Linked DNA regions of Homo sapiens: regions 1, 3, 4, 5, 6 and 7 are each linked to region 2. The links are contacts of gene promoters, found by promoter capture Hi-C in blood cells and fetal thymus (Javierre and others, 2016). All regions are on one chromosome and are shown on one strand. The core of a region is centred on a gene start or on the middle of the fragment in contact, and the rest is flanking DNA. Distances in the headings are between cores, read along the strand shown.

Region 1 (3,700 bases), core at 701-3,200, 610 kb before region 2:
CCGCCCTCTGGAGGATTCTGGGTAGACGAAGGACAGAGTGGCTCCATCCTTTGTTCGAGACCAGTGAGCAGATGCTGGCTGGAGGATGGACTGCACTGGGTGTGGGTGGCGAGACGTCGCCTGCTGCAGCTGGGTGACAGAGCACTGGCCCCAGGACAGTGGTAACAGCGGACGTGGTATAAAGAAATTCAGATTCTAGGTTCGTTTTGAAGGTGGGGCTCACAAGGTTGAAACAAATGGATCAGATGCAGAGAGTGACGAAGAAATCAGTTCGGAGTCTCCCCAAGGTTTTTGGTTGGAACCCAACATCTGGAAGAAGAGAGGACTGCAGAGGGTGATGTAGATAAAGGGCAAAAATCGAGTACTGCATTTCATGTACGTTTCAAATGCCTATTTGCCAAATATGTAAAGGGGTAAAATGAGCCTTCCATAACTCTTCTGGGAAAAAACAAGAACGGACATGTATTGAGTGTCTACTGCAGGCAGTAGACACTCAATGCCTGTCCCATCCATGCGGGGATCACTGCATTTCTCTCTGCAGTAGGTGAAGGCAGTGCTGTGAGCATCACATGTTACAGGCAAGGAAAGAGACACAGAGAAGGCCCATGGAGAGCAAGCCACGGCAGAGCCAGGACATCGATAGCACATCCTGGCTCTAAACCACGTATTTTTGAAATGTTAGGGAGGGAACTTGGAGAAAACAGATCTTGTCTTGGAAGTGTAGAAGGTTCCAGAAAAACGACCAGGTAGGATGGTAGGAAGGAACTCATCTCTCCAAGGTTCAGGGCATGCAGCTATTCCACTTGACCATTCGGTCTGTTGAATGTCTCCTCTGTACCAGGCAGGAAGGGGCCGTGGGAGAAGAGTCCACTGATAACACAGTGTTGTCGGTGCCCTGATGGGGCATCAGCTACTCTGGGAGTCCCGGGAGGGACAGAGGGGCCAGCCCAAAGCTAGAGATGGCTGCGCAGAGGCAGCAAAGACCAGAGAGTTTGGGCTTTATCAGCACCAAGACTGGGGTGAGAAGTGCCTCAAGCAGAGACGGCTTTCTAGGTGTGAGCCGCATGCAAAGTGGAGCTTTAGTCAACGAAGCGGAAACAAGGACTGCAAGACTTGAGGGTTTCCAAGGCTCCTGTGAGAGGAGCTCCCTCTCCTGTTGATTTCTGTTGCTCCTCTCAGTAACTCAAACTCAGGTGGAAGTCACAGCATGCTGGACCTAGTTCTGTCCCTGTCCCGCACTGTGTTGCCTTGGGAGACCAGCCTAAGAAGCTTGCTCAAGACCAGATCATGGTGAACCTCGTTGGGTTCCCTGCCTAGGAAGTTGGACTTCACTAACACCAGTAATAGCTTGGAGATTGGATTGAAAGAGGCAGGTTGCAGACAGGATGGCATGCAAGGAGGCCACCGTTGAGATCTGGGTAAGAGGTGAGGGGAAGGAATTGTGGGGGGGGACATAGGACATGGTATCCGGCAGGTCTTGGTGATGGAGGAGTCGTGATCTAGATGCCTTCATTGTTTCTGCCTGGGGCAACTGGAGACCTGCAAGAATCGTTCGGGTCCTGGATCTATAAGGCCCTAGACAGAACCCAAATCCATGCCTACCTGAGATGATCTGGCAGGCAGTGAATGTGCTTGGCACTGTAAACCAGTTCCCCCACCCTCCATCTTGGTTTCTAAATGGTGTCTGAAGAATATTCTGGGCAAAAGGCACTCTGTAAGGACAGGGTTTAGCCGGAGTTGGAAGCAGGTAAATTGGTCTCTGCTCTTTCCCATGTGCCATCTCCCACCTTCCTTGGCTACAGGCTCTCCTTTGGCCTCATGCTCTGCAAGATCCTTTTGCCATCCTCCTCGAAGATGTGAGATCTTCCCTCTTGTAGCTAAGCCCGAGAGGCTACCTCGACACACTGTTCCGAGCTACAGGGAGAGGCCCAGAAGAGGTCTTTTTCCAGCTGTACAATCAGGACACTCACTCGGGGCGTCTGATTCTGTGTCCTCATAGTGGTGTGGAGGGAACAGCAGGACTGAGAACTGCGCTCTCCATCCCCATCCTGGGGCAGGGAAGGTGTATTAGTCCATTCTTACGCTGCTATGAAGAAATACCTGAGACTGGATAATTTATAAAGGAGAGGTCTAATTAACTCACAGTTCCACGTGGCTGGGGAGGCCTCAGGAAACTCACAATCATGGCAGAAGGCACCTCTTCACAGCGCGGCAGGCCAGAGAATGGGTATCCAGCGAAGGAGGAAGCCCCTTATAAAACCATCAGATCTCGTGAGAAATAACTCACTATCACAAGAACAGGATGGGGGAAACCACCCCCATGCTCCGATTATCTCCACCTGATCCCTCCCACAACAAGTGGAGATTATGGGAACTACGATTATGATGAGATTTGGGTGGGGACACAGCCAAACCTTATCAGAAGGAAAAGCTCATAACGGTGCAGAGAGGTGGGTACCACTGTAAATTCATAGTCTCAGGCCCGCTCATTGTTCTCCTCGGTTCTCATCCCTGATCTGCACCAAGGCTACTGCACATCCTGAGACCCACCCACCACTTCCATTTAACACTCCTTGGCATCCTCCTTCACAAGGAAAGGAACAAAGCCATCAACCAAGGCTCTCTCTCCATCAAGCTTCCGGGTCCCTCCTCCTTGGACCCATCTGTCACTCACGTCCTTCCCTGTTCTGGCACTGACGTGTGCTCCAGGCCTCAGCAAATTAAAAAGCAAACCAATCAGCCCCCCTGACACCTCCATGTCCTACTCTGGCTACCTGCTTTCTCTCTGCTTTGTTCCTGCATGCACTGCAGTCTGGCCTCTGCCCCGTCCTCCCCGCTGAAATCATTCTCAGCAAGGTCACCAGTGGCTGCCTTGTTCCCATAGCCATTTTGAGGACAGCTGTCTAACTGCTGAGGCCAGAAACCTCCCGCGTCCACAACCCACTTCTGAAACCGCACACCCTACTTGGTCAATAACCACTTTCTGTTGATTGTTTTTCAATAGCCCTCTCTCCCTCTTCACTATCCATACCAGGGTGTGGCCCACCATTATTCTAGCTTCCATTTTTACCCCCTTCCGATAGCCATAATAGTTGTTTTTTTTTCTTTCTTTCTTTTTTCTTTTTTTGAGACAGGCTCTCACTCTGTTTCCCAGGCTGGAGTGCAGTGGCACAATCTTGGCTCACTGCAACCTCCACCTCTCAGGTTCAAGTGATTCTCGTGCCTCAGCCAAGAAGCTGGGACTACAGGCACCTGCCACCACGCCCTGCTAATTTTTGTATTTTTGGGTAGACACGAGGTTTCACCATGTTGGCCAGGCTGGTCTTGAACTTCTGACCTCAGGTGATCTACCTGCCTTGGCCTCCCAAAGTGCTGGGATTACAGGTGTGAACCACCTCCCCCAGCCATGATAGTTCTTCTAAAGGTCAATCTGATCATTAACTTGCTTAAAATGCCTTCGTGAGTCCTCATTTCTCTCAGACGTGTCGGGCTGACCTGCAGGGGGCTCCTGTGGCCTCACGTTTCTGCATATGCTGTATCCTCCACCTGGAACACACCCCACCTCTGACAGCTGCCTCCTATTGGCTCTGCGGAGCTTCTGAAAATACCACTTTTCCAGAAAGCTTTTCCCAGAGTGTAAGCACTCTGTCTTCACCCTATCCCAGATCCCCCACTAGGCTGCACCTGCTCTCACTAGACT
Region 2 (3,376 bases), core at 671-3,170:
CCTCACTTCCAGAGTTTGAGAGTAAGTTGAGCCCCAAATCTTACGGAAAAAAGAGTGGGAGGAGGAAGAGTAGTATTCTGTGGCCAACCTAGAAAACCACAGAAATTCCTCCCACCTTCTGCTCAGGCCAGTGGGAAACTTGTAAGACAGAGTCCCAGTCCATGTGAGTGGCGAGTGGGGGCATCTTGGGAGGGGCCTTCCAAAGGCAAAGCCAGGCTGGTTTGGTGGAGTCCTTTCCAGAACCCATCTGCTTGTGTAAAGCCTAGCAGAGGCCACCTTCAGCAGCCCTCCCGGATACTGGTTAAAGTGTTGTTATTGTTTGAGACAGGGTCTCACTCTGCCACCCATACTAGAGGGCAGTAGTACAATCTCGGCTCACTGCAACCTCCACCTCCCGGGTTCAAGCGATTCTCCTGCCTCAGCCTCCTGAGTAGCTGGGACTACAGGCATGTGCCACCGTGTCCCGCTAATTTTTGTATTTTTGGTAGAGATGAGGCTTCACCATGTTGGCCAGGCTGGTTTTGAACTCCTGATCTCAAGTAATCCACCCACCCTGGCCTCCCAAAGTACTGGGATTACAGGCATGAGCCACTGCACCCGGACTTAAAGTGGTTTTTAAAAAGTGCCGTGTGAGACTTCCAAATAGTACTCACGGGGAGGGAAATGAAAGGAGAGGATTGGGGAAGAAACACCTTCTATTTTTTTTTTTTTTTTTTTTTTTTAGAGACAGGGTCTTGCTCTGTCACCCAGGCTGCAGCCTGGACCTCTTGGGCTCAAGGGATCCTCCCACCTTAGCCTCCTGTGTAGCTGGGACCACAGGCGTGCACCGCCACACCCAGCTAATTTTTTTTATTTTTTTGCAGAGATGGGGTCTCTCTATGTTGCCCAGGCTGGCCTCAAACTCCTGGGCTCAAGTGATCCTCCCTTCTCGGCCTCCCAAAGTACTGGGATTACAGGGGTGAGCCACCTCACCTGTACAGCTTCTTTGGAGAATGGGCCTGGGCAGGTCAAACAGGGGCCACTCTACACCATCATGGCACAGCAAGAGCTGGGCTATGTAGGTTCAGTATTCTTTGTCATTTAATCCTTGTGACGACCTCGTGTCATCATTGCTGTTTTACAGATAAGGAACTGAGGCTCAGAGAGGTTCAGTGTCACAGCTAGCATTTCACTTACATATCACAGAGCAAAGGCTCTCTTTGTCCAGAGACAACGTGCCTTTAGGTGATAGAGCTAGGACTGGAACCCAAGTCTATCTGACTCAAAGTCCACACAGCTTGTCCCCCATCCCGCAGGGACCTCTCCACGCTAGTGAGCCCCACGAAACCCCCTCAGTGCTTCGTTCCAGTCTTTTACCTTCAAGCCCAGTCAGCGAGTTCTTTATTTCCACAAATGGTGCTATTAAACTAATGGCTTCGGGAGCTATAGGCTGGCCTCGGCACAGTTACACATCTCTCCACCCACCATGTTCTGGCTTCCAAATAAATACATTGGAAATTCCAGGAGCCGAAGCCCATTTGGAAACGTTTCCGGGCCACCATTTTGCTTTGGGATGGGCAAGAAGAGACACCCTAAACTTGAACTCCTGTCTGTGCAGCCTCCAGCCGGCCAGGCGCTAAATAAGGCCACGGCCCGTTTCCTCCTTCAAAAGTCCCTTGTAAAGGGCGATAGCAGACCCCATCAGGCAAAAAGCTGAGAAGCCAGGGTTGAAATAGAGGCCTCTTTCTGTTTGGTCAATCAGCAGCTGCAAAGGATGCGTAGGATGGAGCTAAATTTATTTGTTCCTTTCTTTCTCAGCAACAGCGACGAGGCCCGAGGTGCAGCTGTCTCGCCTCGCCTGTCTTTTGCAGGCACCGGCATGCACAGAAGATGGCTCTCCGGGAGGAAGATTCCTTTCCATTTTGTTCTCTCTCTGCCTCCGCAAGGCTCGCAGCCACCTCTCGGGAGTGCAGGGCCAGATCCTGTGCCAGCGGGTAGGAATATGTAGCTGCCTCCCAGCCCCAGGGTGGAAATCATGACCTTTGAGAAGCAGGCAAGCTGCACGGCATAGATACTCAGGCCTGGTGAAGGCAAAGTGGGGCCACACCCTAGAAAAACCACAAAAGTCCCCACAGCCTCTGCTTTCACTAGTCAGACCTGTGGGAAACTTGTAAGACACAGTCCATGTGATCGGCGGGTGGGGGCATGTTGGGAGGGGCCTTCCGAAGGCCACAGCCAGGCTGGCAGGGCAGAGTCCTTTCCAGAATTTATCTGTTTGCTTAAAGCCCAGCGGAGGGGCCACCTTCAGTCAACCCTCCAGCATACTGGTCCAAGTAGTTTTTTCAAAGTGCTTTGTGAGACTTTCAAAAGGTACCCATGGGGAGGGAAGTGAGAGGAGGAGGAGGGGACGGTGAAGAAACAGCTTCTTTATTTCTAGCCTTGCTTGAATGGCTTCTTGACGGTTACTGCTCCAGTTTTGCTGAGTCAGAAGAATCCCACAGCCGCTCACCGGAAACACAGCTGTTGGGCAAAAATAACCACAGAGCTGAGCATCATGCACCTTCCAGAAAAGATGGCAGAAAACCTCAAAACAAAAGAGAAATACAAAACAATAGGAGACACTGTCAAGAAAAAAAAAACAAAAACAAAAACCACCGCAGCTCACTAACCGATCCAAGCTGGTGGCGCTCTCCTGATCTCTCTCCACTCCCAGGCCCAGCAACGGCTCTGAAATAAAGCTAAGTTTGGCTATATATATATATATATATATATATATATATATATATATATATATATATATATGTATGTATATGTATATATATATATTTAGATAGAGTCTTCCTCTGTCGCCCAGGCTGGAATGCAGTGGCGCGCTCTCGGCTCGCTGCAACCTCTGCCTCCTGGGTTCAAGTGATTCTCCTGCCTCAGCCTTCCGACTAGCTGGGATTACAGGTGCGCCACCACGCCCAGCTAATTTTTGTATTTTTAGTAGAGACGAGGTTTCGCCATGTTGGCCAGGCTGGTCTCGAACTCCTGACCTCAAGTGATCCGCCCACCTCGGCCTCCCAAAGTCTTGGGATTACAGGTGTGAACCATCACATCTGGCCTACTTTTACACTGTAGTGGGTTTAATAGTGTCTCCCCAGTCACACCTCCACCAAAAAAAGAAAAGATATGTCCACAGTCTAATGTGCTGCAGCACCTGTGAATGTGACCTTAATGGAGAAAGGATCTTTGCAGGTGTAAATTAATTTTAGGATCTCAAGATTGAATCATCCTAGACTACCTGGGTGGACCTCAAATCCAATGACAGGTATCCTTATAAAAGGAAGGCAGATCCAGCTTGGGCAACATAGGGAGACCCTGTTTCTACAAATAGTTTAAAAAAAAAAAAAGG
Region 3 (3,697 bases), core at 416-2,915, 570 kb before region 2:
ATTTGCTATTTTACTTCTCCAATTCTACTTTGCCAAATAAATTCCCATTTACCTAGGTGATGGCGGCAAACTTGCGCATAAAGTTTGAGTCTGGAATGATTGTCATTCTCCTCGCCGCTCCAAGGCTGGTTAAACCACTCACTCACAAGCTCATCTGTCAGCTTCTGTGCCACAGTTTTTCCCACGCGCATGATCCCGTCACGTAGCACTTTGCAGATGGGCTTGTGCTGCCCAAGCCTACACATCTGATATCATAGACAAGATCATTAGTTATAACAGGAGCCATTCCTTCATTCAGTACCAATGGTTAGCAAGGGAGATTCTTTAACATACATATGGAAGCATTTTCCTTTTTCTTTTAGGGTTATCACATGCAATCAAACCAACATTACAAGTTGGTCCTTTCAGGTAATTGTAATGTACCCTTAAATTGCTATCTGTCTCTCTAAAACTTGGACTAGGCTCTCTAAAAAAAAAAATGTTTCTTCACTCAAGCCAATTCCTCCTGTACAAGAGGAGGCTGCTGAACACTACCTGATTGCTAACGGACAAAGAATTAGCAGATTCCTGCCTACTGTTGCTAACTGAGACATATGCCCACTAAAATCTCCTAAGTAATCCCTACTCATAATATTTTCCCATAAGATAACATTAAAATTTTATGGGCCATCTGTTCTGTTACAGACATTTGGAGATCACCAATAGCAGGGGCCACTGAAGCAGTGAGTATGCTGATCGCCTTTTTTTTTTTTAAAGTAAATAGGACAAGGAGATTCTGCTATTAATCTCCATGACGCTAAATGGGTGCTTATGGCAGGGAATATAATAAACCTGCAAAAAGTAAACTACCTGTTCACCAGCAGGAGAGCCCGTATTATTATCCCTTACTAGAGTAGATGAAGTGAAGGCTTACTAAGCCCCGACAAAATCCTCTAGTGTATACTCTTCCTAAGGAGGTATCAATTACTGCCGAATAAGCAACCCTAGTGAAGTCATTAAGAAAAATTTAAAAGAGTGTCTGTCTGTACCCTCTTAAAAAGATCTGGCAGTGCTTTTTACATTTTGTAACTTATGTTGAAGGTTCCATTCAAGGAAATGGCTGGGCTTTAAAACTGCTTACACAAATTTTCTGTTAATTATGATTTAATAGTATTATATATGCCCTGACCAGACACTGTTCAGAAATGAATGTATCCAAGGCAGTGACTTAATTGATGTCATTACATCATGTTAGCATCTCCTCATTTCTTTGTAGCAACAACGTAAATTTACTATTCCGTGCCTACTCATACATTTATAGATCATGAATGTCCTGTTTTGGAATATTTTGCAATTCAGCTTGGAATCTTATTTAAAAACCACTTTCATAATGTTTACATGCCTATCATAGTACTAAATATTTTACAGATATTAATTTCATTTTGCTGAATACAAAGACATTAGATGTATCAGATACAAAGAACTTAGTGCATATATACTTTGGCATAAGAAATGTGGCACTTATTCTTCAAAGACAGACATGATTCTATTTTTTTTAAAGCAACAGGAATTCATATACTAAAGATGTAAAATTATCTGCCTGGTTTTTACATTATTATAGGAATTATATTTTTAATCAGTATCAAAGTTTCAGTATTAAGATGTCATGTTAAAACACAACAGGGACATTATTCATTAAACTTATGTTTCAATTCAGAAATTTGCAAAAGACACATTTTTACACTGTTGTCAGGAACTCTCACCTACTCACCCTGTCCCTCAATCCATCCAGTAAATAAATACAAAGAGTAGATGTGCTCTTTTGGTAAAGCTCATCTTCTACATAGCCACACTTTCCCCTGGTGAGCAATATTCTTCAACTTTTAGCACATAAATGGAGAAGAGAGAACTGATGGGATTTTAAGACGTGTGGTAAGAATGGGAGGGGAACGTTTTCTAAATCTAACAAATATAAAGCAAAGATGGGAAAGCAATTTGCTTCCAGAAAAATTGGCCAATTCAATTCTCTTCTTCATCCACCTGTTTGCAAATTTTCTCTGAGATTTACTTTCAAGACATTTGTCTTGAAATTTAGTCATCACTATAAACAATCAGAGGATCCAAGTCATAAAAAGCAATTTTCACAGTAACTTCCTCACCTCGTATACAGCACTCAAGTCCCTGAAGAAAGTTTTGGCTCCTTCGAGCAAGGCCTCATTTTCTGGACACACCACAATATAGGCAACATCACGGTGGCCCCCATATGGGTCCAACAAGAGCCTCTCCCAAAACGGCAAGGAGAATGGCGAGATGGTGAGGAAATCCTTGTCATAGCCTACCAGCAGAGTGGGGATGGGCAACGGCTCAGGAGATTCTTCCGAACCTAAAATGACATTGTAGTGTAGAAAGGTGCTAGAGAGTTTTTCCCACAACCTTACAATTTTGAAATTCCTGGTGCACTGGTCTTAATTCTGGCATCTGAAATGTCACTCCATGTTCACAAGACATTCTTAAAAGTATTTTTGAAATCATCTAATTAAATGGTCACTGATGAGGACTCTTAATTAAGTAAGTCAGAATTTGTTTATAAAGGTTCAGTAAGATCAGAGGGCAGACTAGAACAAGTTAAAATTAACTTTCCAAGCAGCACTACATCATTTCCTTCAAGATAAGCATTATGATTCTGACTATGATGAAGTAGACAGAACTGGCCCAGAAGTCCATCCAGATGAAAATGCAGTGAGGATTGGGAAAATGAGGAGAATCTAAAAAATGCACTTTTTAGGGATTAGCTTCCTCACTGACCTGGATTATGCCAAGGGTGGTAGGAAACTTGACTCCAAAAGTAACTTTAGGAAAACAAAGAGATTATAAAACTAAATGGTCAAAGAAAAAGACTCCCCTATTTTGTTAGTGACGCAAGGACTTGACAGTAACTAACGCTGCTCTTCACTGAACAGCACTGAAGTCAGAAGGAATTTTAAACAGGACAAAGACCCTACCGTAGGTTCCCCGTCCTGCCATTTTATGGAACTGCTGCCAAGTGAGTGGTCCCTGCACATGCTGGATGTTCTCCCAGGTCCTGCCCGTGCGCTTCTTTTGGATGGCATCTTGGAGAAAGGGCTGCAGGGACAACAGCATACGAACCACATCCTGGGAGGAGAGCATGCTGATGTCCAGCACTGGAAGAGAAGTGAGAAGAAACAGAGAAGATAAGGGGGCTAGCACCCTCCTCTTCCTCACCATCACCTCGAGCCTCAGTTATATTCAGAACAATGACGTTATTAGCTGTAGTAGATTCTAAAATATTTGACTTAGGAGTCAGGAGGAAAGATATTCTTCTACTAAATTAGAGAAAATAATTGATAATTTAGTATCAACAATAATAAAAGGGGAAATGGATTACTCTATATAAAAAAGTTTAATGGAAGAATTGTTTAAAAGTGGAAAAATGGATAGGTGCGACTTTTTAAAACCATGGAAATCTGTTTCCAAGGATTTTCATAAGACAGCTGCAAAAGTTTCTTAATTATTACTTTTATTTGCAAATATCAATGTTTTGTTTATATGATAAGTAGGAAAAAATGGAACTTAAATAAAAGCTTTTAAAAACTCTTTAAATGCTCCTAATTGTAAAAATATTTTCACAAAATACAGAATGCATGAAGAGAAGGCCAATCTTCAGTGCAGCCAGAGGCACAGGGAAACACAGCTGAAG
Region 4 (3,752 bases), core at 591-3,090, 540 kb before region 2:
TCATGACAGGCTTTTACAGCAATTATAATATTTTAGTCAAGTCTGTTAAAATATCAGTGTTTTTTAAAATTATATTGTGTGATATGCTAAGACTATTTCAACCAGTCATCTCTAATAATGACATATTAGACTGAACCAAAAAAAGATTGTTTCCATACGGTTCAATCTAATATTATAACATTTAAAAGCTGTTACTCACAGAAAATTCTGAATTCCAAAGACAAAACTAAGATTTGTAATGCTCAGATCAAAAGGACATGAAGTTATTTTGGTGATATATAGGTGGTAAAGCTGAGAATTAATGAAAATATGAATGTATCAATTACATTTAAATTACAGCTAAATACCTATTACCAATGGAGTTTAAAATTAAAACAAAGTTAGGAACATCGCTGAAGAAACTATACACTGTATAATTCTAGAACTTTGATTCTGATAGAAATTTCAAATACTAAGTATTTGGTTTATCTTCTATAAACCATTACATTCCTAAAACCTTGTTAATAAACACAACAATGAAAACCTTTAATTTGTGACTTTGGTCAATTACTCATTGAATTCTATTTTTCAAGTATTTATTGATTTTCTTTTGTTCTGAAGGAAATTCTACATTTTATTCTTACAAAAGAATACACATAAGACCATCTTATATATGCGATAAGCTTCAGCGAAAAACTAACACACTATTACTACTTAATTATGAAATGGTAGTCTTTTCTTCCTTCTTCAAAATCTGACCCTTATGCTTAGCTTTAAAATGTCCATTTAAGATAAGGTCTCACCCTGCAAAACTTTACTGGGCAAGATGGTTATCCACTCGGTGGCGGATAGGGGTGGAGAGCAGGAACACCCATACTTACCTTGAAATGGTGCAGGTGAAGACTGAGCCATGTGTATATGCTCCTCATTGATCAAATAAATTGGCTGGTGCTGGGCAATCTCCACACTTGTGCATACATTACTTTCTCCATGCAGAAAGAATGTGAAAGCACAGGACAAATGCTCACTACAAAAGAGAGAATGAGAAACTCAACTTTATATTTTGGTAGGAAAGGGTGCTAGAAACAGGAACTACAGGTAAGATACAGCTCTACTTTATCAACCGTCCAGTAAGGCTGACTTCTAATTGTGGGCAAAAGAGAAACTTCTAATTCAGTATTGACAAACTAAGCCATCAGATAAATCTGGAAATACGAATATACTGCATTGAGAACTTTTGTAAGTTACTGTACAAAATGTTTCCAGTTTCATTTGCATAAAATCTAACTCTTATGCCAACTATAAACACCTAAGAACAGAGAAGGAATTGGAATAGTTTTCTATTGTCTCAGTGTCTAGCACAAGACAAGCACTCAAAACGTGTTAAGTCAAATAAATGAATAAACACTTAAAAGACTTATTTTTTAAAGTGGCCCACTGACCCAGCATAACAGCTCACACCTGTAACTCCAACGTTTTGAGAGGCTGAGGCAGGAGGATAACTTGAGGCCAGAATTCAAAACCAGCCTGGGCAACATAAGACCTCATCTCCACCAAAAATAAATAAATGAATTAGCCAGGCACGGTGGTGTGCACCTGTAGTCCTAGCTCCTGAGGAGGCTGAGGTGAGAGGATCGCTTGAGCCCAAGGGTTCGAGGTTGCAGTGAACTGTGATCAAGCCACTGCACTCCACCATGGACAACAGAGCAAGACCCCTGTCTCAAAAAAAGTGGCTTACGAACAAGATCAGAAGGCAACCCCTCAGCACATTTTTTCAAAATTGTAACTTTGGCCCTAAGATAGCCATAACACATCTCCATTTCTCAAAACATCTCGTAAGAACATTTTCCTGATGAAACAAAATCACTTTTACTAAATAAAGCCAAGCAACCACAATTTTTAAAAGTCATCTCAAAGATGCTGCTTCTTTTCAAAACTTCTCTAAAGTATTATAAAGTACATTTGGAGTACTACTCAAAAAAAAAATGTTGTTTCAAGTGCAAAATCATAATGCTTGAAAGGAAAACATGAAATAAAATTAAAATGTTTCTCTATCACATAGTGACACATATATATTCTCCTTTGACCAGTATGTTTAGATAACATTTTTTGTTTTACCAAAATATGACATTTCACCAGTAGGAAACACCCAGTCTTGGTATCTGGGTATTTAACATGACAGAGTAAATTCAAGATAGTGACTACAATTTTAAAAGAATTTTGAAAAAAAGTTTTAAAAACCCTTGATACCATACTTCTAAGTTCACAAAAGCAAAAATGCACATAATTTGAACATCTATAGGTATAAAATAATATAAACAGTAAAAATACTCTGTCCTTTATGAAAATGACACTAGAAACACACCATCTTCTACATACAACATTATGTCTGGCACATTAAATAGGACCAAAATATAGTTTTACTGATTGTGGATTGGCTTATTTTTCAGCTGTAAATTTCAGCTAAGGGAGTTTGAGCTGACTTATCCCTATTCATGCCCAGTATCCCATGTAGTTACTAGCTTATTTATAAGAAGCTGGTGGGAGAAATAAATGTAGACTACAGCCATAGAACATGTTCTCTATTCCACCGAGTCCCAACTGTGCATCAGAACAAATACAACCAACATTTATCTAAGAATGGTGCAAGGAGCCTGAAGTGACACTGAAGAAAACACAGTCCTTGCCCTCAAGGAGCATATTCACTAGCAAGAGACTGATATGAAAACACATGAATAAAATAAAGCCAGGCACAAACATACAAATAATAACAAAATGCCATAGAAAGGCTAACCAGTAGTGATTTCTTCAATTTAGAATATACAAACAAATGCTTTAAGAAGAAAAGAACAAATGAAAATTTGAGAAACGTCCATTCAGGTATTTTGCCCAGCTTTTAAATCTGGTTGGTTTCTGCTACTGACTTGAGTTCCTTAGATATTCCAGATATTAATCCCCTGTCAGATATATAGTTTGCAAATATTTTCTCCTATTCTGTGGGTTACCCTTTCACTCTGTTGGTCAGTTCCTTTGCTGTGCAGAAGCTTTTTACTTTGATATAACCCCATTTTCTATTTTTGTTTTTATTACCTGGACCTTTGAAGTTTTATTTTTAAAATCCTTGCCCAGATCAATGAATGTGAAGAAGGATTTCTCCTATGGTTTCTTCTAGTAGTTTCATGCTTTTTTTTGGCGGGGCGGGGGGGGGGGGGAGGTGATCTTGTTTTTAAATTGAGAAATAGGGGTCTAGTGTCATTCCTCTGCATGTAGAAATCCAATTTTCCCAGCATCATTTTTTGAAGACACTATTCTTTCCTCTAGTATGTGCTCTTGGCACCTTCTTTTAAATCAAGTGTCTGTTGATAAGAGAATTTATTTCTGGGTTCTCTATTCTGTTCCATTGATTTACGTGTCTGTTTTTATGCCAGTGTCATGCTATTTTGGTCACTACAGCTTTACAGTATACTTTGAAGTCAGGTAGTGTGATGTATCCCCCCACCACTGCTTTGTTCTGAAAATAAAACATGCAAATGGCCAACAGGTATATAGAAAAAATGTTCAACATGAGTAATCATCAGGGAAAGGAAATCAAAATCGCAGTAAGATATCCCTTCACTCCAATTAAAATGGACATCATCAAAAAGATAACAGATAACAAGTGTTGGCAAGGATGCAAAGAAAAGAGGACCTTTATACACTGTTGGTGGGAATGTAAATTAAGACAGCAATTATGAAAAACAGTATAAAGATTCCTCAAAATGTTAGAAATACAA
Region 5 (3,534 bases), core at 826-3,325, 590 kb before region 2:
AAAGCTTGAAAAATGAACTTTCATCAGTTCACTCTGCACACTGCAGTGAGTGATCCCCTTTGTGGCAGCATCTCACAGAAAACAACAGGTGACTGAGAAAGGTAAGCGGGGCCAGCATCGTCTTTGCTGCACACATAGAGAAGATACCAGCAAAACTGACAGCCTCAGTCAAGTAAGTACAGATTTATTTGCTTGGGTTTCTTTTCTAAGGGATGTAAGATCTATTTCATGGCATTATGATGTAACAAACTAAAATGGAAAGATTACAATCTCTGACAGCAGAAGGCTCTACCACACGCAGGTGCTCTTTCACCAGCAACCAGCCAAAGACACACAAGCGCACCAGCCTGACCAGGACAATGTGACACCAGTATGTGCACAGCACAAAAGTTCCTGAGCTGCCAGTAGTGCAAGATCTGCTCACAGAGAAGCCATGTTTTCATTTGCAGCATTCCCCTTAATAAGAGACTCCTGGAAGAGGCTATGTTTTGCTGCAACTGACACTTTTCTTATCTTTTAATTCTTTTAGCTAGCTTCATCAATTGAAAATGTACCTTTCATGCAAGCAATAAGTAATGCATTTGTTTTTAAAAGTCTCTGTTTATGCTGGGTGCGGTGGCTCACACCTGTAATCCCAGCACTTTGTGAGGCTGAGGCGGACAGATCACTTGAGGTCAGAATTTCGAGACCTGCCTGGCGAACATGGTGAAACCCCACTCTACTAAAAATACAAAAATTAGCCAGGCACAGTAGTGCACGCCTGTAATCCCAGCTACTCAGGAGGCTGAGGCAGGAGAATCCCTTGAACCCAGGAGGCAAAGGTTGCAGTGAGCCAAGATCATGCCACTGCACTCTAGCTTGAGCAACAGAGTGAGACTCTGTCTCAAAAAAAAAAAAAAAAAAAAAAAAAACCTTCTGTTTGGAAGGAAAAAATAATCTGCAGCTACTACATCAAACTGTATCAATTCTGAGTTGGTTAAAAAAATAAAAAATTTACTGCCACTTTGAACGCATTCTCTTCCCTGCTGTAATGTCTTAACTGGATATCAAAGAATGTTTAATGGTTCAGAAAAAGGAAATGCTGAAAGCCTCTTGGAGGTCACCTGGCTGCAGGTGCTCAGGATTGAAAAAGGCCACCTGGCTAGCTTCAGAACAGCACTGTCTAAATCATGGCATTGAATTAAAGACTTTAGTGCTTAAGGCTCCAAAAAAAGGGAGAAATACAGCATACCTCTGTTTCTTACACAACTAACATTACAACTTCAATAACCAATTCTTTGTTAATGCATAAACTGAATTACAAAAACAGGTACTGGGAGGTAGTTGCTATTATTCCATTTCACAGATAAGGTAACTCAGGCTAAGAGAGGTGAAGTTAGCTTGTCCAAGGTCACAAAGCCCGTAGGCCCAGAGCTGCAATTCAAAGTTGTCTTTAACAGACTGTGGGGCATGCATTCTTAGCTGCTATGCTACTTGCCTCCAGAATTCAAATTAAACCCAACTTTAAAAAAATAGACAATGTAACATTTGTGTTTTTCGTTCCTATCACAACCGTTTCCCATGAACAAATTATCATTAACTGGTAAGTACTGCAAAGGAAACAAAGACCCTTAAAACCCCTTCCTTCCAGAAGAGGGTAATAGGGGCAGGTATAACATGGGAACAGTCTGAGATGCCCTCCTCTGGTCTTACCTGCTCTGTGACTAATCTAAGCTATAAACCTTTTTTCTCTCCAGCGTCTAATAAATTCAGTGCTGGGAATAAAAGTCCCCCCCCCCCCCCGATGAAAACTGAAGTCCTTTATGTCCATCTTTGTGTCTAAATAAATGAGTGTGAGCAGGCTGCTTATGCTTGTTCAGTCTAAGATACCAGACATAGCTATTTTTCAAAGTCTTAACTCCCCAGTCTCATAACATTTTAAATAAACAGTACAATACAGTGATGCAGCAGGAATCATCTAACTGAAGCAAAGTTACCACAAGCTGTGGCAGAACCCTCTAACTCTTAAATCTTCTGTTGTTCATCCACCTCCAATATCCCTGAGATATTTAAAGATGAAACCAGTTGTAAGCTCTGGTTTTTTCCTTAATACTCTGGCGTTAACCTGGACACATCTGTAAAATCAATCTCCTGGCGGCTCTTGCCATTCCTGCAGGTCGGCTAGAAAGAAGAAGGCTGCAAAATGACTAAGCCAGGACACGCAAAGAGCACGGCAGGCTCCTTTCAGAACAAGCCATCACCAACGTGTTCTTCAATCAGCACAATTACTCTGCATGTTGAGTAAGTACGGTTGTTGTACTAATCTCTTAAAAGCCACTATTTTGGCAAAAAATAAAACCATTAAAAAACTGGGAAGCAGCAAGCAACTAGAACTAATTTTTGCTAAGAAAACAATGCATTAAAAACCCTTGCATCTGTAATAGGACTATTCTTCTGATAAAACTTATTCATCAGAAATAATAACATATTTATTTCAAATTCCTGCCTTCTATTCAAAATGGAACCATAGTCAGTTTCCCACACTTATTTCTCTTGTACCAAGGACCCAGACCATCAAGAACTGTGCAAGTAGGAACAAGATGATCAGATGTCCAGTGGATTATCTTCCTAAAGGCTATGGTTGTCTTAAACAACGTACTCCAAATCATCCTTACCCGACTATGCTGGAAGTGAGAGCCCACACCAATTCCAGAAGGAGAGCCTGGGGAGGGTACTGGGGAAGAGTTGGGAGAGGAATGGAGGTTCCCAGTCATTAATATGCCAATATCATTGTCCATATCATCTGGGAATGGAAGGTCAACAAACATATCATCTAGAGGGAAGGGGGGAAAAAAAGCACAAAAATTAAAAAGATAGTCCACATATCAATATCATAATAATCCAACCTAACCTATGTCATGTTTTGTTGGCATATGGCTATTATGGACACACACTGTTAATAACTTAGATTCAGTTAGGACCTACTGAGTGCAAGCTATTACAAATTATTCTTTCATTTTGTACTCTCTCCAATGATCTCCTTATGTACAGTATTAACAGAATGCAATAAAGAATATAACATAAAAACCTACACTCTGCATAGCCTCCAAAGACACATAAAAGTATGGTAAAAGAGCTAAAGCAACAATTTAATCATTAAAATTGACACCATTCAAAAACACAGTAGACTCCATCTATGTATCCACTTAGCATCTAAAACACCAGAGGCTGAATGAATGCATGTTAATGAGTGTGAACTTGCCCTGAAAATGGAGACCTATTCCAAAAGCAAATCAAAGCACAATGTTTTCTCTCTTTTTTTTTTTTTGAGATGGAGTCTCCCTCTGTTGCCCAGGCTGGAGTGCAGTGGCACGATCTCGGCTCACTGCAACCTCTGCCTCCTGGGTTCAAGTGATTTCTGGCTAATTTTTGTATTTTTCATAGAGATGGGGTTTCACCACGTTGGCCAGGCTAGTCTCAAATTCCTGACCTCAAGGGATCCGCCTGCCTCAGCCTCCCAAAGTGCTAGGATTACAGGCATAAGCCACCGTGCCT
Region 6 (3,621 bases), core at 266-2,765, 520 kb before region 2:
TTGAAGATACCATTCTAAAACTTGAAATTTATATTACTAGTAAAGCCACATATACATGAATTCTTAAATCAGCCCCCTGAATCAAACTTTTCTGCTTTTTTATTACCAGGAGTACTATTTGAAAGCAGAACTTACATGATTTACATTTTGTTTATAAAAGCAGCAATATAACAGAGGTGAATAAACACACATTTCTTCTCCCTGGAAAGGACAGATGAGGCTGATAGCGTAAAAAAAAACCCAGCATCCTGTCTGACTGAAGTATTAGCCTATGAGGTGGAATGAGAAAAATCAGTATTGTTTGAATAGAAATAATTATAAAAAGAAGGAAATTTTATCTGGGTATGGTGCCATTACACTGTTTACCCTCAAGAGCTGAAGTCTCAGTTCAATTCTTTCAAGGATAAAGGGCTATATTTACCCACTGTTAGCCGATGTTCATGTTAAACAAAGCCCTCACAGAACGTAAACTTTTAATTTTTTTATTCAGTAACATTTAACTTCTTTCTGTGCCTGGGGTCATCACTGGTAAGAATTCCAAGAAATATTCATTCTGTGGAGATACATTCAGCTATCCTGGAAGAAGAACTGTACCACCTTAAACCTCAGGAATGGTTCTATCCCCCTCTCCCATTTAATCATGATACTCTGAATCCCTTCTGCATCAATTATGCATACAATAGAGTACAGTACATAAAACCACAATAAGCAATACAGAAAAAAAAGGATTAAAGCCACGAAAAATGTATTAATTTATTCTATGCAATGCACTTGTAATTCTTCCACTTTCAGTCAAGATCACAGTACAGTTTAATAGTCTGGTTCAGGGACCAATTAATCCTTTTATATTTAAATCAATCACTGACTCCTCTCCGAATAATTTAGCTTCTACATGCTGCCTCCCATTTGATGTCTTTGGGGGAAAGAGCACAGTTAACACTATGTGGTACATTAATCATGTTTAGTAACAGAAAAAGAAATGCATTATCAGAGAAATCTAATACAAAAAGTAAAACATGCTCTAAAACATGTTAGGATAATCAGTACATGTGTCACATTTTTCTTAATAAAAGCAGGCAAGTTAAACTGGGAACCAAGAGTATACTCTTCATCTGGCTTTTCATAGTATGTGTGCATGCATGTATCTATTTATCTTGACTATGTATAAATAGATATCCAGGAATAAAGCCACTCAGCTCAATCCATACCCCTACGCACTGGCAGATTCTTCTCCATCCCAACCTAAAGCAAATGACTTGATGATGCTCAAACAGTGGGGAAGGGGAAAAGTAATAGAAAGGCATGTATTTTATTCAAACTGGCATATGTTTGGCACTTTGCCACAAAGCTGAGTCCTTTTCCTAGAACAACTCAGAAGCCTAATTAATAGGGTTAATTCAATGTAATATTCATGTGTAGTCTAAAGATTCTTACCACTGCATATAAAGCAGATGTCCATGTTTTAAGAATATTTTCTCTAAACAAATGTGTCAAGAAAGCATTAAGAGTTCATGTGACCAAGAATAACGCCATTGTACTATATGCTAGCTCTATTTTAACCAACAGCAAGAGAAGGAGGTCCTCTTTTTTGTTCCTGGATCTTAATCACAAGAATAAATCAACTTGGTATTCTAGTGCCCACCCCATGGATTACAAATGCAGGATTTAGTTTCAGAAATTTCAAAGCCAACTTAAGCACTTTTCAAATGTTCCATAAGTAAGTGTTTTCAAAAAAATTAACCAATTAAGTTTCTATGTAGATTCAGCACTGAGAAAAGTGAAGTCTGTATCTTGGCATAACCCGAATGTATTGCTGACTCAGGAGCTCTGCCAGTTCAAACAACTCCACACGAAAGAAAGCGCAAGTGAATGTTAGCTCTGTGTTCACTTCACACCAACACAGAGAAATCAAATGGTCAAAGTTTAAGACCAGCTCTGTGATACTAGTGGGAAGAAGAGTGAAAAAAGAGGCCATACTATAGGTGGAAATCCTAACTCCTAAGAACACACAACAGCATCTAAAGACAGATTCAAAAGCCTGGCTAGATTATCTCACTGAAGGAATATTTCTCTGAGCATGTGAGCTGAGACAACATTTGAGAATCTGGTAGACAACTATGACCCGCAAATAATCATCAGGTAGAAAAATATTGTCATCCTCACTAATCCCCGGAAAAGTCACATCAAAGAAACATCTGGAAAGAACCCAAGTCTTCTGTTTCTTTTTTAAGCCTCAGAATAGAACAGAACACCACTAATCAAGATTAAACAAGTGAACCAAAGCTCATCATCAAAAATCATCTCATCCCTAGAATATGAAGTTGTATCAGCTAACAAGCTACTGTCAACAGGATGAGTCTTGTGTCATTTTCATGGTGGCTTGGTAAATTTGGGTGGATCCATTCATACTCCTCTGTCTAGTTATGTCTGTCAAATGGTATGCAAACTGTATATGCAAAAAAGGGTATAGTAAGAGACCCTACAGATAACTACAAAACACACATAAATCCAAGGAGTTAAATGCAAGGAAAAGAGGGGGCCCCTCCTTCTCTATTTATTTGTTTGGGTAAAATGCACCGTTATATTTTAGTGACTTTCTCAGGCAGTAAATCCAAAGATGGAAAATATTACATGTTCTTTCTGGATTCAGTATAGAATAATGTTCAAAACGATAATAAAATGCCTAAAATCCTTTTGAACACTGGTGTTCCTTTCCTTTCTCTTCTCTGCTTTTAATCTGGTCATCCCAATCCTGGGCCTACATAGTACTGAGTCCCCCTGGCTGAGACAACAAATGAAAGCCTCAGCACATCCACAAACTGCCCTTCTCTCATGCTCAGCTCCTGTCTGAGCTGCTCTGAAAAATTCCCTCCCATCCTCTTGCTAGCAGAGGCTGTACTCGGCTTCTAGATGGGGGTCTTTGGTGCTTCTTAACTGCCTCTGATTTGGTAGGAGCTCTTCCTTTACTAGCCCCTGTGGACTTGTAACTAATTATTTAATCTATGGACAGTCTGTACTGAAAACTATGGTATGACATAAAATATGAGTCACAGCGTATCTGGTAATAGTATATATGTGGTGAAAAATGCTCTGCTATAAACCTCATATTTAACATAATTTGACCAACATTAACATAACAAATTTTCAAGTAAATAACATCATAAACATTAGGATTACCAAACGGGATCCAGTTCAGAGTTGCTATTGTATCAGCAGCCATCTTTAGACAGGTTACAAGTAAAATGGGAAAAGAAAAATATTAATGCAATAAAAATTATTAAGTCACAAAAAATGTTTAACCAGCCTTTCAAAATCACCAATAACAAGACATATTTTAGGTAGATAAATATATATATATTTCTATAATAAAGTATTTCTTTTATTACCAACTACCTAATAAAGTAGTAGGTAATCAATAAAAATTACATGCATGAAGTGACATTTCTAAGTCAATATATAAAATCAACTCTGGAGAAAGACATGCTTAAAAAAGAAAAAGCAGGCTTAGCATTTTATTTATAAAGCCAATATTAAAATGCAGTCTTATCATTCTCTAACTACTCTTTAACATACCATGTCTAAGTCAAAATATGGTAGGCTGGTTTATAGTCACTCACACAC
Region 7 (3,338 bases), core at 649-3,148, 550 kb before region 2:
ATGTCCCTCCCCCTTCCTCTCAATGACCCCTTCTTTCCATATTTCAAGTACAATCCATTCTTCCAGACCATTATGATCTCCTCATCTTCTAAGTACTTATAACAGTAATGGTATATAATATCTGTTAGATACATTTTATTTTAAAGTTTGGGCTTTAGAAATGTTTCCTACTTAACTTTCAAGCCTTAACTTAAACACTGCTCCCCATCACTTGGTCACGTCGTATCTGAATGTCCAGCAACTTTAGATTCAGGTCTATTATTGTACTCACAGCAATAAGTACATTATAACTTTATGTGCCATTTCTCCTTATGTCTGTGAGTGTCTCAAGTATAAGGGTGGTAATTTAATCATATTTCTAACCTCAATGACTAGCCTTAGTACCACCACAAAGGAATTAACCTTCAAACAATTAACAAATGTATGTAAAACAGATGAATAGGGAGGTAGATAAGTGAATGAATGAAAGAAAAGTAAACTAATAAGCTGACCTTTTTGAAAACAGAGCCTATCTTACTCATCTCTAGATCTCCCAGAAAAAACAGGCACTTGTATTTGCCCAAAGGTACAGAGTTGGTTAGGAGGATGAGGACACACATTTCCTGACTCTTAGTTCTGCTGATCTCCAAAGAATTATAATAATTATTCTTCTCTGTCATTTTAATTGTATGCTGCCTTGTAGTATTTAACTTCTATGTATATAAATTCTATTCCCCTACAATGATGCCATGATCTTAAAAAGTATAAATCATATTTGCATACCTAACCTCTGACTTATTAGATGAATAAAAAGTTATGTGGGCATTACTTTAAAAATCAAACCTAAGGGACAATGTAATACATTTCTAGTAGTCCTGTGATATTTAGAAGAATTTATTACAATAAATGTGAGAGATTTTAATATGTACAACTGGAATACACTAATGAAAAAGATCCTTCAATGAACAAAACTCGAGGTGGATACACTACACTAATAACCTTTACAATCTTTTCCAAGTATACAAACTTTTTTTATACAGCATGACTAGATTCCAGTATACAGACATTTATAAAGAACATTCAGAACCTGAAATAAGAGCCCCCAAATTCAGGACACCAAACTATAAAGAAATACTACAACACTGATATAAAGTCCTTTCATGTAGCGAAATTTTTGTTTATGTAGCTACGGCAAACTCACCCCAAGTTCGTCGTCATCAGAATTATCAAAGATGTTGTCTAAGTCATGCAGGGAAGGTGCCAAATCTGTTACCTGTGTAAGGCTACTGGAGCCAGCTCTGCCAGCAGCATTATCCTGCCGGACATCTGTAGGAAAGGAGGCAAAAGACACAGAATAAACAACTCCACCAAGCGCAAAGGAGTAGGGAGAGGACACGGATCTCAATGAACATGACCTGCCTGTGAGTTTTTCCCTATGGTTTTAGTTAAATTTAGAGACAATTATTTCCAAATATGTTTATCAGTTTTGAAAGGAACTGAAAAACAAACTATGAAAAATATATTAAAGATGAGATGAAATTCTTATTACAATAAGAATAAAATTTTACATTGAGAAGCATCTCCTTTGCATTTCATTTTAGCAACAATCCAAGTGAGGCAAATAATCATTGTACACACCTGTTTTAGTAGCAGAACTGAAAATAGACATGGCATTTTTCCCATCAGGCACCGGCGTGGAATGACCTGGTGTAGTGACATCCTTGGTACCAAATCCATCCTCTGACTGTATAATAAATTCAGCCAAACAAAACACATGAACACCAACCCAAAGTGTGAAATATGAGGGAGAACACAAAGAATTAGAGGGTAGAATGGAACTTGTTATGAGCACAAGTATGATAAACCATGGTCTATGCAACCAAAGGAAGTAAAAGATAGGTCCTTTCTCTGGAATTTCAACAGAACCATGAGCTCCCCACTTTCCCCTCAATCCTATGGGGTATTCTGAGTGAATCAGTGTTTTATGCCTAAGCAGTACTGGTGGCATTTGATTACAGACCTGCCATGGTGTTAAAAGCTGCCTTTAACAACATTTTAGATGCTAAATTATAGATTTGGCTTTCTGGGTCTAGGGAGATCTGTATAAAACAATCTAAAAAGCATTCCCCTAACTATACCGGCCTCTTATAATTGTTTTATTTCCTTGATTCTCAAGAATACCTATTTCAATGGCCCATATTTTAGAATGTCTGAAAATTTGAAATTAAAGACAGCAGACACAACCAGTACTCATTTTTATGATGATGAAACCAGTAAAATTAATACTGATAGTCTATGGGTAGAGTTGATATTAACCCAGAGAATATATAGGTACAGCGCTCAGCACAGTAAGGATAAGAAGCGCTCGATAAATTGTGTATACCTACTGTTACAAACATTTTTTCCTTTACATTTTGGGTAGTTCGGAATAATATTTTAAAAGAAATAGGGAGCATAGGCCAACAAGAATTAGCATATGAGAGAAAACATGCACTGTACAAGCTATAGCCTGGAAAATATGAGGCTTCATTTATGTTCGGCTGACTTTTAAACAAAGGTGAGCCATGACATAAAAAGGAACAATACGCTGTTCAATACAATAGTACCAAGAGCATGAATATGGGGACAGAGCAATCAGGCAAGACTATCTCAAACGTTCTGCCTCCAAAGTCTTCCCACACATGTTGTACTGACATAGATAGAAACCCACACCATGCTGGACTCTCTCTCTGTTAAATGGTACCTTATTCTTTTTCAGGGAATCTTTCTCCGTCCCTTGTTTGCATTTCTTGTTGGCTGTAAAGATGTATTTTATGTCACCATCTTCAAAGGTATATGGGTCATTCACTTCTCCCAAACTGTCTCCAGGTTGTTGTGATAGAGGCAATGGGTCAAGGAAGTGGAGTGGCTGCAACTGGGGCTGTTTGTCTTGCCAGATTTTAAACCGTTTGTTAGGTTGTGCTAAGAGTCTAAAAGACAAAAAAAAAAAAAAAAAAAAGAGCATTTATGCCTTAAAGCATTTACAAAGTTTAAACTTTTTGTAAAAACAACTAAAAATTCACCGATATAGTGATTTGCTTTTACAGTTTATATTCATGATTAAATAAAAATTAGCATACTTTGTCAAGAATATATGTTTTTGTCTCTGGGTCCATCAATTCCACTTAAGAGCACAGGTTCTCAGGACAGACTGCCTAGTTTCAAATTCCATCTGTGTCATTTACTAACTGCATGGCCCTAGTTTCTCAGTTATAAAATTAACGTAATAATATGGTACAGTGAAGATTAAATGAGATCATCTATGTAAAGTTTTAGAATGGGTGGCTCAAAAGAGCTATAAATATTATACTAGATACATG

The links. The method cuts DNA at HindIII sites, captures the fragments that hold promoters and counts their contacts. A CHiCAGO score of 5 or more calls a contact.
Region 1: a fragment that was not itself captured here is called in contact with the fragment with the promoter of MAP1LC3B2 in region 2 in 1 of 17 cell types (neutrophils); the score reaches 5.2 in neutrophils.
Region 3: a fragment that was not itself captured here is called in contact with the fragment with the promoter of MAP1LC3B2 in region 2 in 3 of 17 cell types (non-activated CD4 T cells, naive CD8 T cells and total CD4 T cells); the score reaches 6.8 in non-activated CD4 T cells.
Region 4: a contact is called between a fragment that was not itself captured here and the fragment with the promoter of MAP1LC3B2 in region 2, in 10 of 17 cell types (total CD4 T cells, neutrophils, naive CD8 T cells and 7 more). The highest score is 10.6, in total CD4 T cells.
Region 5: a fragment that was not itself captured here is called in contact with the fragment with the promoter of MAP1LC3B2 in region 2 in 1 of 17 cell types (total CD4 T cells); the score reaches 5.3 in total CD4 T cells.
Region 6: a contact is called between a fragment that was not itself captured here and the fragment with the promoter of MAP1LC3B2 in region 2, in 9 of 17 cell types (total B cells, total CD4 T cells, monocytes and 6 more). The highest score is 10.1, in total B cells.
Region 7: a fragment that was not itself captured here is called in contact with the fragment with the promoter of MAP1LC3B2 in region 2 in 1 of 17 cell types (non-activated CD4 T cells); the score reaches 5.1 in non-activated CD4 T cells.

The regions. Positions count from the first base shown.
Region 1 is chr12:115,948,755-115,952,454 of GRCh38, forward strand. No RefSeq gene overlaps it. Among named protein-coding and RNA genes, the nearest start is that of LINC02463, 64 kb to the left of the region's middle. The HindIII fragment of the contact is 1,366 bases long and covers 1,268-2,633 here.
Region 2 is chr12:116,557,461-116,560,836 of GRCh38, forward strand. MAP1LC3B2 (microtubule associated protein 1 light chain 3 beta 2) reads left to right here and starts at 1,921. Exons shown (of 2, transcript NM_001085481.3): 1 at 1,921-1,973. RefSeq lists enhancers at 1,416-1,925, 1,765-2,104, 2,325-2,374, 2,415-2,514. The HindIII fragment of the contact is 18,876 bases long and covers 1-3,376 here.
Region 3 is chr12:115,984,128-115,987,824 of GRCh38, forward strand. It overlaps MED13L (mediator complex subunit 13L), which reads right to left. Exons shown (of 31, transcript NM_015335.5): 18 at 2,982-3,161; 19 at 2,139-2,362; 20 at 53-245. Among named protein-coding and RNA genes, the nearest start is that of LINC02463, 100 kb to the left of the region's middle. The HindIII fragment of the contact is 3,827 bases long and covers 1-3,579 here.
Region 4 is chr12:116,021,596-116,025,347 of GRCh38, forward strand. It overlaps MED13L (mediator complex subunit 13L), which reads right to left. Exons shown (of 31, transcript NM_015335.5): 5 at 861-1,006. Among named protein-coding and RNA genes, the nearest start is that of MIR620, 130 kb to the right of the region's middle. The HindIII fragment of the contact is 2,361 bases long and covers 661-3,021 here.
Region 5 is chr12:115,966,286-115,969,819 of GRCh38, forward strand. MED13L (mediator complex subunit 13L) reads right to left here. Exons shown (of 31, transcript NM_015335.5): 28 at 2,655-2,812. Among named protein-coding and RNA genes, the nearest start is that of LINC02463, 82 kb to the left of the region's middle. The HindIII fragment of the contact is 4,146 bases long and covers 3-3,534 here.
Region 6 is chr12:116,042,536-116,046,156 of GRCh38, forward strand. All of the region lies in intron 4 of MED13L (mediator complex subunit 13L), which reads right to left. Among named protein-coding and RNA genes, the nearest start is that of MIR620, 100 kb to the right of the region's middle. The HindIII fragment of the contact is 7,745 bases long and covers 1-3,621 here.
Region 7 is chr12:116,004,689-116,008,026 of GRCh38, forward strand. MED13L (mediator complex subunit 13L) reads right to left here. Exons shown (of 31, transcript NM_015335.5): 11 at 2,723-2,948; 12 at 1,618-1,723; 13 at 1,181-1,305. Among named protein-coding and RNA genes, the nearest start is that of LINC02463, 120 kb to the left of the region's middle. The HindIII fragment of the contact is 5,074 bases long and covers 1-3,338 here.